Regions from separate parts of the Homo sapiens genome. Here all the other regions are linked to region 2. The links are contacts of gene promoters, found by promoter capture Hi-C in blood cells and fetal thymus (Javierre and others, 2016). All regions are on one chromosome and are shown on one strand. The core of a region is centred on a gene start or on the middle of the fragment in contact, and the rest is flanking DNA. Distances in the headings are between cores, read along the strand shown. Region 1 holds the start of RASAL1 (RAS protein activator like 1). Region 2 holds the start of OAS3 (2'-5'-oligoadenylate synthetase 3). Region 3 overlaps DDX54 (DEAD-box helicase 54).

Region 1 (3,916 bases), core at 565-3,064, 200 kb before region 2:
TAAAAATACAAACTATAAAAATCTACTAAAAATACAAAAATTAACCGGGCATAGTAGTGGGTGCCTGTAGTCCCAGCTACTCAGGAGGCTGAAGCAGGAGAATCACTTGAACCCAGGAGTGGAAGTTGCAGTGAGCCAAGATCGAGCCCTGCCCTCCAGCTGGGCAAAAAAAAAAAAAAAAATCACAGTGGGATGACTCCTTTGGGGCTATTACTGTTCTGGATCTAACCCTGGATTACCCCTCATGCCCCGCTGAGGATGTTGCAATACTTCTAAGCCTTGGAGCCTGTTCTGCTAGGTCCATTTCCCAGATGGGATTAACTGAGACCCCATCTCTGGTGGGTCAGAGACTCACCAGGCAGCCACCAGCTGGGGAAGGAATTCCAGGGCTCTGAGTTCCTCATCAGCCTGTCTGGGTTGCTGGGTGGGGAGTCAAGAAGGGAGACTGGGAAGCAGACCATTGGGCTGCTGACGGATCCAGGAAGGGCACTCCTGGTCTCACCGGTCTGGGCGTTGGCTCCCGCACTCAGTCTGCAGGGGCACTCCCATTGGTGCCTGGCCTTTCTAAGAGGTCTTGGGCAGGTCAACAATGAATTCACAGGGAGAAATAAGTGTGCGAACGGATCTGTTCTGGGACAGGCCCTGCCTGTCATATTATCTCATTTAAAATCAGAAAAATGTACAAACCTGGAGCCACTGGAGCAGAGAGAAAGGAAAGAAAATCTCTACCGGAGTGGAAGGGCATCCTGGAAGCCTTCCCAGGAGAGGTGACGCGTGGCCCACGCCTCAAAGGACAACAATCAGAATATCAAACACTTTCTGGACGTGTATTAGGTACTTGTCACTGTCCTGAGACTTTTATCTTCATTAACTCTTTTAATTCTTTCAAAATCCTGTGACTGAAATGCAATGTCATCCTCACTCAACAGATGAGAAAACCAAACCAAAGCACAGAGAGGTTGAATGGCTTACCCAAGTCCAGACAGCTACCAAATGGCAGAGCCAGGATTCGAACCCCTGGAAGGCAAATCAGTTACTGACTGTGAGACCTCTGCCAAGTTATTTAATCCCTCTGAACCTCAGTTTCTTTATCCATAAACTGCGGATAATGGGGTAACAGTGGAGTAGTGTGTAGTGCACATCTGGAGACAAAAATGAGCTAATCCCAGTAAAGCGCTTAGAACAGTGCCTGGCACCCATGAAGTGTTCAAACAACTGTAGATGACTTTTTATCATCGCTGTAGTGGTTATCTTCAAGCCTTCCCCTCCCCCATCTGGCCGCGGCTTCCTCCCCCGCAGTGCCAGCCCGTGACGTTAGAGCAGAGTCTGGGTTCTGTGTTTAACTGGAAACTAGAACGAGATGGAAGGGGATGTTCAAGGCCCCTCCCTTGACTCTGAACGGACCCCCAGGGAACATGCGACCCTCTCTCTGGCGACGCCTCCCACCCACCACTAATACTTGCTCCTGGACCGGGGGGCGCGGAGGTTGGAGAGAGGAGGCAGGTGTCTGCATGGTAGGCAAGGAGGGGTGGGGGCGGAGAGGTGTGAATATGTTGGATGAGGGACAGGCGGGGGCACAGACCATGTCTTTTAAGCCCAATGCCAACTCACCAGGAGCCAGCGGCCACGCCCATCAGGACGGGGGCCCCTCCCCACCTGGCGGTGCACCCTTGTCTCCGCCGCCCGTGCGCTCTGGCGCGCATGACTGGGGTGCCGGTAGAGGGCGCGCGAGGGGGCCCGGGGTCAGGTGGGGGACCCCATTGGAGGCGGGATTGTGGGGAGGTCCCTGGGCCGCCCCTCCCGCCCCCTGCCCGCCCAGCCTGCTTGTCTGGAGCTCCAGACGCCTCGGCAAGAGCCCGCTGCGCCCCCTGCGCGCTCCTCCTGCTCGGAGCACGGCTCCTACCTGTAGAGTCCGGACGGGCGCTCCCTCCCCGGGCACCTACACCTTCTCCTCTTTCGGAAATCTCCCATCCAGCTACCCGGGTCTCGGACAGGCGGCACTGGGACCACGAGGCAGGGAGCCAGGCTTGAAGCAGGTGACATGTAGACGTCCCCTGGTCCAGCCTCGGAACCTGAGCGCCCTTCTGCCTGGAAAGTTTGTGGCTAGGCGCCATGGCCAAGAGCAGCTCCCTGAATGTTCGCGTGGTGGAGGGCCGCGCGCTGCCTGCCAAGGACGTGTGAGTACTCCTCGGGCGCTTCTGGGTGAGGGGCGCGCAAGGCCTGGGGTGGGGCCGACGTCGCCCTTTCCGCGTGCCAGGGCGGGTTGGCAGGAGGGCGAGGGGTTCTTGTCCAAGACTGGTCTTGGGGCAGTTCCGCTTTAAAGGGGCGAGAGGCCGCATGCCCATGGCTGTCCCGGTGGGAGGGGGGCGCCTAGAGTTAGCAGATGCCCCGCCTCACCCCCGGGCAGGGGAGGGGGTGTCTTTGTTCCCGGGATGTACTAAAGGGGGTCGTCCAGAGCTGAAGAGGGGATTAGAGGGCCATATTCTGTCAGATCTGGGAGGGGAGAAAGCGGGGGGTCTCTTCCTTAGTCCAGGCAGATGTTGGAGGTGGCTCCTCCAGGCGTGGGTGGGGGCCTAGCAAGGGAACCCTGGGGAGGACCCTTGGAGAGGGCCTGGGATCAGATGAGCCCTAACATCCTGTGTGGATCTGGTGCTTAGGTTTGCAGAGTGTCACCAGGTGGCCCTCCAGGGTCCTTTTGACCCCAAGCCCTGAGCTCCCCAGTCTTGTGGCTCCCAGCCTCGTGTGGGCCTTCCCCGGGTGCTGAGCTGCTTGAAGAGCCAATTCCTTGCTGCGACCCCCTCCCCAGCCAGGTGCAATGGGACTGGGGGACCCTACGGCTCCCTTCACTACTAGTCCCAAGCTATGCTTCCCCCAGGGCTGAGTCAGCAGCTGCTGAATCAGCAGAATATGGGGGGCGGGTTCCCCCTCCTGCTTGGCATAGTGCCCAGAAGGGGCTCTGAGGGCCTTAGCACCTGCGACAGGTGTGGGATCCTCTGGAGGACATTTGTTGTGTGACCTTGAACCTGCTTCTCTCTGGGCCTTGGTTTCCCATTTGGGCAATGAGAGCTCTGGACCGGAGTCCCCATCTGGTTGCCTGGGGTCTCCCATCCAGCTGGGAGGGTGGAGGACCTGTTAGGAGTTCCCCTGTGGCCCAGGTGAGCAGGAGCATGGATTGGGAGCCTTCACCTGTGTCAAGATTCAGTCTTAGCTCTGTGCTGATTCCCCAAGGTGTGGGCTCCCAGAGAGGACTTTCCTGCCTGATTTTATGACATTCCCAACCCCCAAAACACTGCAGCTGCGTCAAGGGGGCAGCTGTTGAGAGCAATTTTTGCCACCCTTCATCCTCATTGGCTACTCCAAATATACACACCCTGAATGAGAAGCAGAGTGTGTGCTCTGACAGTTCAGTGGCTGGACAAGCCCCCCCACCAGACTCTTTCTAAGATGTCCCCTCAGAGGCCCTGGGAATGAGACGGCCTACACTGTTAGGGCATTGAGGCCAGGCTGGATGCCTGGCAGCTGCTAGGTGGTGAAAGGAGTTCTTTCCAGAAACGGGGTTCTCACTCACTGAGCTCTGGCCCCTCCACCAGCCCTGGGTGAGAGGTCATGAGGGGGCGATGGGTGTCACCCCTGCACCTGGACACTGGCTTACGGTAACCTGCTGCTCTTCTGGAGAAGGGACTTGAGTCATGCCTGGTTCCTGCAGCTCTTGGCCAAACTTCCTGCCCCCAATTCCTGGGCCAGTGAGCTATGAAATAGGTCATGCCCTAGAGCAAGGGTGGGGAGGAGTCACTTAGCCCCAGCTGGCAGGGGGGGTTCTGGCCACCCTGCCTCAGTTTCCCTAGCTGTCAGCACCCTTCTTCAAAGGGGCTCTTCCTGGAGGCTGCTGGGAGCTCCATGCCATGGGAGCCCTTAG
Region 2 (3,928 bases), core at 225-2,724:
CTAGGCGACAAGTGTCTCCTCCTTCCCCACCTCCCAAGCTGAGAGTCAGCCCCAGGAAACCACTAGGTGCTCTGAGGCCATTTCTACTCTGCGTTTTCACTCCCTCTCCTGACAACCTCCTCTAGCACACCCAGGTTCCCTCCATCAATCCACTCCTGGCACCCCCAAATCTACCCTGAGGATAAGGTAGCTCATGACTTGTCTCCTCCCTGAATCTGCGAGTGTCCTGGGATCACAGTGGCAGTGTGGCTGTATTTAAGTGACAAAAAGTGACCCGGAGCCTGGGCAACATGGTGAAATCCCGTCTCTACAAAAAATGCAAAAATTACCTGGGCATGGTGGCTCACACCTGTAATCCCAGCACTTTGAAAGGCCAAGGCAAGTGGATCACTTGAGCCCAGGAGTTCCAGGCCAGCCTGGGCAACACGGCAAAACTCTATCTCTACAAAAAATGCAAATAATTAGCCAGGCATGGTAGTGTGCACCTGTAGTGCCAGCTACTTGGGAGGCTGAGGTGTGAGAATAACTTGAGCCCAGGAGGCGGAGGTTGCTGTGAGCCAAGATCATGCTACTGCACTCCAGCCTGGGTGACAGAGCGAGACCCTGTCTCAAAAAAAAAAAAAAAAAAAAAAAAAAAAAAAGATGTGACTCAGAGTAGTAATTTAGCGTCTAGCCTCAGTTTCCCTATCCATAAAACAGGTACAATAATACCTGCCTCACTGAACGTGGGGATGAAATGAGGTAATACTCATTTAATGAGATAATTTTCATTGTTATTTGATAATGTCTCAATAAATTGGGCTACTCTGGCTGTTACGCGGAGTGTTATTACTTCTGTAACCTTAAGGTCTGGCATAGTGTGAGGCCCACAGTCTGTTTGAATGACTGGGAGAATGAGTGAATGAGTGAATGAATGGATAAGAAGCAGCCTCTGAGAGTAGAGATGCAGGAATCAGGCTACTTGGATTTGAATCCTGGCTGGGCCTCTTACAGGATCGGACACGTCACTGTACCTCTCTGTGCCTCATTTTCTCTATCTGTCAAGCGGGCTTAAGAGTACCTACCTGGCTCGTATGTTCGGGGGAGTTAGCACGGGGCTGGCACATTGGAAGTATTTGTTAAAGAAATGAATGAGGTGCACAAGCGGATAAAGCCACCCCCACCGTAAGCCTATGTGAGGCTTAAGCGTCCTCCCAGGACTCCCCTTTGGACACATAAAGACCCCGAGGTGGGACCTCACCTTGACAGTTTTCAGCACCCGCGGGGCAGCAGCACCGAGGCGGCCCCCGCGCTCCCTCAGGGCAGCGGCCAGGGCGCCCAGAGCGCGCCGCGCCTTCTCTACGAACTCCTTCCGCGGCTGCAGCCTTCTGGCCACGAACCTGTCCAGCGCAGCGGCCGGGGTGCTGTACAAGTCCATGGCCGCCCGGCGCAGGTGCAAGGGGAAGCAGGGCTCTGGCGCGGCCTTCGGATTTCTGGTTTCGTTTTCCCGCCCGGCTCTCCGAACCACGCCCAGCTGGCCAGGTCCTAGGTCCTCGGTCCCGCGCGTGGCGTGAAACGGGGAGGGGCGCTGCAGTTCCTGTCTTCCCCAAACTTGGGAAATTCCCTGCTTTCAGTTTCGTTTCTTTCTAGCAGCTCTTGGACCTGACACCCACTTCCTGGTCCCCTTCCCAGCTACGACTTCCTCTCCTTCATCTCCTTGCTTCCAGCCGTCCCTGCAACCACCAGCTCCAACGAACTAATCACAACCTAACAAAGTATACCCACAGAACATATGGGTACATACTGAGTAACGTACTCTGAGCATTTCAGAAACGTGCAGGTTTTACATGGAAAAAAAAGGTCAGGATTTAATAAACGGAGAAGTCCTACCTCGCTGTCTGACTGAGGGATGCGTTCTAAACACCACTACCACCACCAACGATAATAAAGCACACTTGGAGACTCTCACTGACTCCTCCCAACGACCATGGTGTAGGTGCTATTATCATCACCCATTTGACAGATGAGGAAGTCAAGGTACAGAGGAACTAGGTAACTGTCCAAGGTAACACAGCTGGAAAGTTGTCTGGCTGGATTCAAACCCAGCCCAAGCCCACAGAGCTGCCCTCTTCAGAAGCCAACTCTTCCTAAATAATTTATACGTGTAATGCAGTTCCAATAAAAATTCCATCTTTAAAAACTTCAAACACACGATCTAAAGTCTGTCTGCAAGAATTAAAAATTATTTTGGAGGAGAAGGAGGAAGGAAAGTCAGTCAGTTTAGGATGGTACCTTGCACAACAATACTACATATTAAAACATTGTAAAGCTACAATAGGGAAATCCTCTTGGAATGGGCACAAAGCTAAGCGGACTGTAAGCTATAAGCTGCAGAGTGGAGATTTGAATCCAGGACCATTGCGCTTCTATCTTCATGGCCTGTCTCCTTTTTCTGCTTATTTCCTGCTGCTTCTCCACCCGGGTTCCTAGAGACTGCACACCTGAGCTCTCTTCCAGGCCTGGTCCAAGCCATAGCCTATCTCCTCCTCCCCATCTTACTAAAAAACTCCCAGGTCCTCTCTCCTGTCTGCTCCGGGACCCAGCATTTACTCTGCCTCTGAGTACACTTCAGGTAATAGTCTTAACAAGTGCTTCCTGACATCTGCACGGTAACTGAAAGGAAATAGATAGGATCAGAGTGTGAATTTCAGAGGTCATGGTCAACTAGAGGGAGAGATGCTGGGTCTGTAATATGTACACCAGCTAATATTTTGAGTAGTGAATGCTGCATCACTTGGAATATTCAAGTATGGGCAGGTTTTGTAGGTCAGGTGTTGTGGTGGGGATTTAAGTCAAGGGATTGAGCAATGATTTTCATTCTCGCCCATTAATCACAGTCTTCTTCCTGAGTCACAGGCCACTTTAGAAACTTTCCATTCAAGATAGTGGATTGAACACATGCTCAAAATTCTATTAAAATAGCAGCAAAGATATATTAAAAGCATAATGGAAATCAACAGGGTTGGAAACTGAGAAAAAGTGGAGTCAAGGGGGCGGGACATTTGAGGCATTTTTAGAAGATGGAACGCAGAAGGGTCAATATTGGGTCATGATGGTGGACTGAACATATGCATAAGCCTTCAACGTCCATCCCAGGCCTCTAGAGGTGGCAGGAAAGCGATAGAAAAACTTTAATAATGTTGCTGGGTCCTAACCAGAGGTGTCCCAGGTAAACTGGAATCTGAGATCCCTGTCAGAGATATGAGACTGGATGAAGGAGGAAATTGCAGCCAAAACACATAAAGGAGGGGGTACCTATGCAGAGTGGAAAGGCTCTGAGGAGCTGCAGGCTCCAGGCAGTGGATTGAAGGAAAAGAAGGGACCCTAGGTTAACTCTCATGGTTGTCAGTTGTGCTGGCATAGTAATGGCAGCCTCTAAAGACATGTGGTCTCCCGCCCCAACCTTTCTGTGTTGAGTAACAGGCAGCAGAGGTGCCTGCCTAAGGAGGGAGCAGTGAGGGTGGGGCAGAGAGGCAGGGAAGTACACAGCATACCTGGCCACATCTGGAAAGAACAGGAAGTCCTGTATGCAGAAGACTCATTCCTGGCACATCCCCTTTCCTCATCTCTGCCTCCAGCTGCAGTAAGAAGGTACCAACTTCACAGGGAGACAAGCAGAACATCCCCAGTGAGCAAAAAGCACACATCCAAAGGTGCCAAATTATTTTGGGAGATCCAATGCTATGAACATAAAAACTCACATGTAAGGACACTGAAATAATCAATAAAGGAGAAAGAGTCTTCTGTGGTCTAAATTTGTCCCCCAGAATTCATGTGTTGGAAACTTACTCCCCAATGCAGCAGTTGGGAAGTGGGGTCTAACAGGAGGTGTTTGTGTCATGAGGGCTCTGCCCACGTGAGTGGATTATGGCCACTGTGAAAAGAGCTT
Region 3 (3,666 bases), core at 402-2,901, 230 kb before region 2:
GGTGCCGTGCGTGTGTTTTTGACGGCTATTGGGTTTATTGAGACGCAGCCCTTCGTAAGTCACGGAACAGCTGTGGTCTCATTTCAGAGATCACTGTCCCCCATTGCTCTCTGATGACATGGCCGTCATTTTGGTGTGTGTCCATTCTTCTGATGTTTCTATTTTAAGTTGTGGTAAAGTAGACATAGCATGCAATTCAGCATTTTGCCATTTCCCAGTGTGCAGTGGAGTGGCATTGAGTCTGTTCCCATTGTGCAACTGTCACCACCATCTGTCCCCAAAACTTTTTTTTTTTTTTTTGAGAGTCTTGCTTTGTACCCCAGGCTGGAGTGCAGGGGTGTGATCTCGGCTCACTGCAACCTTCACCTCCCAGGTTCTAGCTATTCTCTTGCATCAGCCTCCCGAGTAGCTGGGATTACAGGTGCTCGCCACCAGGCCCAGCTAATTTTTTGTGTTTTTAGTAGAGACAGGGGTTTCACCATGTTGGCCAAGGTGGTCTTGAACTCCTAACCTCAAGTGATGCATCTGCCTCAGCCTCCCAAAGTGCTGTGATTACAGGCGTGAGCCACCATGCTTGGCCCCAGAACTTTTCCATCTTGCAAAATTGAAGCTCTATCCGTCAGACAAAATCTCCTTATTCCCCTCCCGCAGCCCCTGGTAACTGTTATTCTACTTTCTTTGCCTTCTTTTAATTCATAAGTGTCATGTGGTGGGTGCACTTCCCCCTTGTTGCTGTCTGCTGTCCCCTAGTTTCTGTTGCTGTGTGGAGAGCTGGTTCTGCATGTCCCTAGGGAGGTCCCCAGGACGCCCCCAAAGGGAATTTCTTGTGCCTCACAAGACCAACAGTGCCGGTCAGACAACCTCAAATGAAATCTCCAAATGTCATAACACCTTGTTTTCCCAAGATACAGAGACAAACCAAAATATAATGCTATGTAGTGATTTAGGTACTTCATGCAAAATTGCAATCATATTGGGTGTTCTTTTTTATAACTGGCTTTTTGTTTTTTTCTTTTTACATCACCATACATCACGAATGTTTTTCGTTTACTATGAAATGTCATTCTGTGATGGGTTGGCACATCTTTTCTGTAAGGGGCTAGACATGAAACGTTAGGCTTTGTGGACCATACTGTCTCTGTCATAACTGTTCATCTCTGCTGCTGTCGTGTGACTGCTGCCTATTCATTTATATAGATAATATATAAACAAATGAGTGTGGCTGTGTTCCAATAAATCTTTATTTACACAGACAAGCAGGGGGCCGGGATCTCACTCTGTTGCTTGGGCTCTAGTGCTGTGGCATGATCATAGCTCACTGTAAGCTTGAACTCCCAGATTCAAGCAATCCTCCCAGCTCAGCCTCCCAAGTACTTAGGGCTACAGGCACACACCATCACATCTGGCTAATTTTCGTTTTTTGTAGACATGGGGTCTTGCTATTTTGCCCAGGCTGTTCTCGAACTCCTGGCCTCAAGTGATTCTCCCACCTCAGCCCCTCAAAGTGCTGTGATTACAGGCGTGAGCCACCAGCCTGGCCCTGTAGGCTGCAGTTTGCCCACTCTTTTCCTGAGCTGTTTAATTCCCACTGTGTGGCCATCAGCTAATTCACTTATCTAGTCCTCTACCCTTGAGACTTTAGTTTCCAACTTGGGGCTGTCCTAGTCAGGGCCACACTAAACCTCCTTGTGTGTGAATCTTTACATCTTTGCGGGGAATTCTCAAAAGTGGGGACACTGAAGAGTTTTGATCATGCTCATGAGCAGGGCCTTGCTGTATTTTTGCTAGTCTCCCAGAGCACTGTGTCAGCTTGGGCACACTCTCACAGATCAACCTAGGGACCGGGATTAAACTTCCCTGTGCGTAGGTGGGGACAGCAGCCGTGTGAGGTTCGAGGCTTGGCCAGGCTCACCTGCTCAGGGTCTGGCCTGTGGAACTCATGCTGGGTCCGGGTCCTTCTTTGCTTAATTAAGCTTGAACGTCTCCTTGCTGCAGGCCGTGTGGCTCGGGCTGGCCGAAGTGGCACAGCCTACTCCTTGGTGGCCCCTGATGAAATCCCCTACCTGCTGGATCTGCACCTGTTCCTGGGCCGCTCCCTCACCCTCGCCCGACCCCTCAAGGAGCCCTCAGGTGAGTGGAGGCTGGGTGGGGATAGGGGTCCCCGTGGAGTTCATGGGCCCTGTTTTGGCTGTGGGAGGAGGTAGGGCTGGGTTTGACCCCAGCAGAAGATGATTCCTTTTATTTATTTTATTGTATTTTATTTGTTTTGTTTATTTTTTGAGACAGAGCCTCGCTCTGTTGCCCAGGCTGGGGTGCAGTGGTGTGATCTTGGCTCACAGCAACCTCTGCCTCCCAGGTTCAAGCCATTCTCTTGCCTCAGCCTCCCGAGTAGCTGGGACTATAGATGCCCGCCACCACGCCTGGCAAATTTTTTATTGTATTTTTAGTAGAGACAAGGTTTCACCATGTTGGCCAGGCTGATCTCGAACTCCTGACCTCAAGTGATTCGCCCACCTCCCAAAGTGCTGGGATTACAGGTGTGAGTCACTGCGCCCGGCTGATTCCTTCTATTTTTTAACGAGACGGGGTCTTACTCTTGCTCAGGCTGGAGTGCAGTGGTGCGATCATGGCTCGCTGCAACTTCCAACTCCTGGGCTCAAGCAAGCCACTATGCCTGGCTAATCCCTCTATTTTAAACTCAGGATTTCCCACAACAATCCAGATTTCTGGTATCTACTGGGAAACAGTTGGATCTGGGTGCTAAGCTGTGGCACCCCCATTAGACAGGCTTCCTGGTCCCCTGCAGCCCCTGCCTGCCTCCCCTTCCTGTCAGTGTGGCCTGCCCAGCCCCTGCAGGCATCTAGTGTGTGACCCTATACTTGATGAGTTTTCAGGGGAGCGCAGCGGAGGGAAAGAGAGGCTGAGGCTCATTCAGACCAAGCCCACAGGACATTTTTAATTTATTTATTGAGACAGAGTTTCGCTCTTGTTGCCCAGGCTGGAGTGCAGTGGTGCAATCTTGGCTCACCACAACCTCCGCATCCTGGGTTCAAGCGATTCTCCTGCCTCAGCCTCCCGAGTAGCTGGGACTGCAGGCACACACAACCACGCCCAGCTAATTTTGTATTTTTAGTAGAGACAGGGTTTCACCATGTTGGCCACGCTGGTCTTGAACTTCTGATCTCAGGTGATCTGCCCGCCTCGGCCTCCCAAAGTGCTGGAATTACAGGCGTGAGCCACTGTGCCCAGCCGCCCACAGGACATTTCTGTATACATCCTAGAATGGGAATGCATGGGACAGACAATAGCAATCACCATGGCCTCCATCTGTGGGCCTCCAACTATGGGCCTCCACCTGCAGTCCTGCTGGTTCCCGGGCCCTGGACACATCTTGTCTCATTTGTCCATCTGTGCTAGAGGGAGGGCTGTCATCACCTCTGCTTCACAGATGAGAGAACGGCTCTGACAGGCCTACCCGCATGCACACAGCAGGGAGGTGGGGAGCTGAGATTCAGGCCCCCCCAGAGGCCCAAGACTCAAGCTCAGAGAGCTGAGGCGGCTTCCTCCGGACAGCCTAGCCAGTGGTCAGCAGAGAGCGCAGCCCTCAGAGCTCCGGGCCCCCTCTGCCTCGGCTGTTCACTCTTGGCTGCCAGTGGTGGTCTCTGT

Evidence for each region. The method cuts DNA at HindIII sites, captures the fragments that hold promoters and counts their contacts. A CHiCAGO score of 5 or more calls a contact.
Region 1: a contact is called between the fragment with the promoter of RASAL1 here and the fragment with the promoter of OAS3 in region 2, in 12 of 17 cell types (total B cells, naive CD8 T cells, activated CD4 T cells and 9 more). The highest score is 14.2, in total B cells.
Region 3: a contact is called between a fragment that was not itself captured here and the fragment with the promoter of OAS3 in region 2, in 2 of 17 cell types (M0 macrophages and M1 macrophages). The highest score is 5.2, in M0 macrophages.

What each region holds. Positions count from the first base shown.
Region 1 is chr12:113,133,659-113,137,574 of GRCh38, reverse strand. It overlaps RASAL1 (RAS protein activator like 1), which reads left to right and starts at 1,814. Exons shown (of 21, transcript NM_001301202.2): 1 at 1,814-2,177. The coding sequence starts at 2,113. RefSeq lists a silencer at 1,688-1,827. The HindIII fragment of the contact is 4,772 bases long and covers 1-3,916 here.
Region 2 is chr12:112,936,020-112,939,947 of GRCh38, reverse strand. It overlaps OAS3 (2'-5'-oligoadenylate synthetase 3), which reads right to left and starts at 1,474. Exons shown (of 16, transcript NM_006187.4): 1 at 1,241-1,474. The coding sequence starts at 1,417. RefSeq lists enhancers at 756-925, 1,349-1,518, 1,482-1,791, 1,686-1,855, 3,652-3,821 and a silencer at 1,172-1,261. The HindIII fragment of the contact is 11,275 bases long and covers 1-3,928 here.
Region 3 is chr12:113,168,234-113,171,899 of GRCh38, reverse strand. DDX54 (DEAD-box helicase 54) reads left to right here. Exons shown (of 20, transcript NM_024072.4): 12 at 1,996-2,130. Among named protein-coding and RNA genes, the nearest start is that of MIR7106, 11 kb to the right of the region's middle. The HindIII fragment of the contact is 648 bases long and covers 1,328-1,975 here.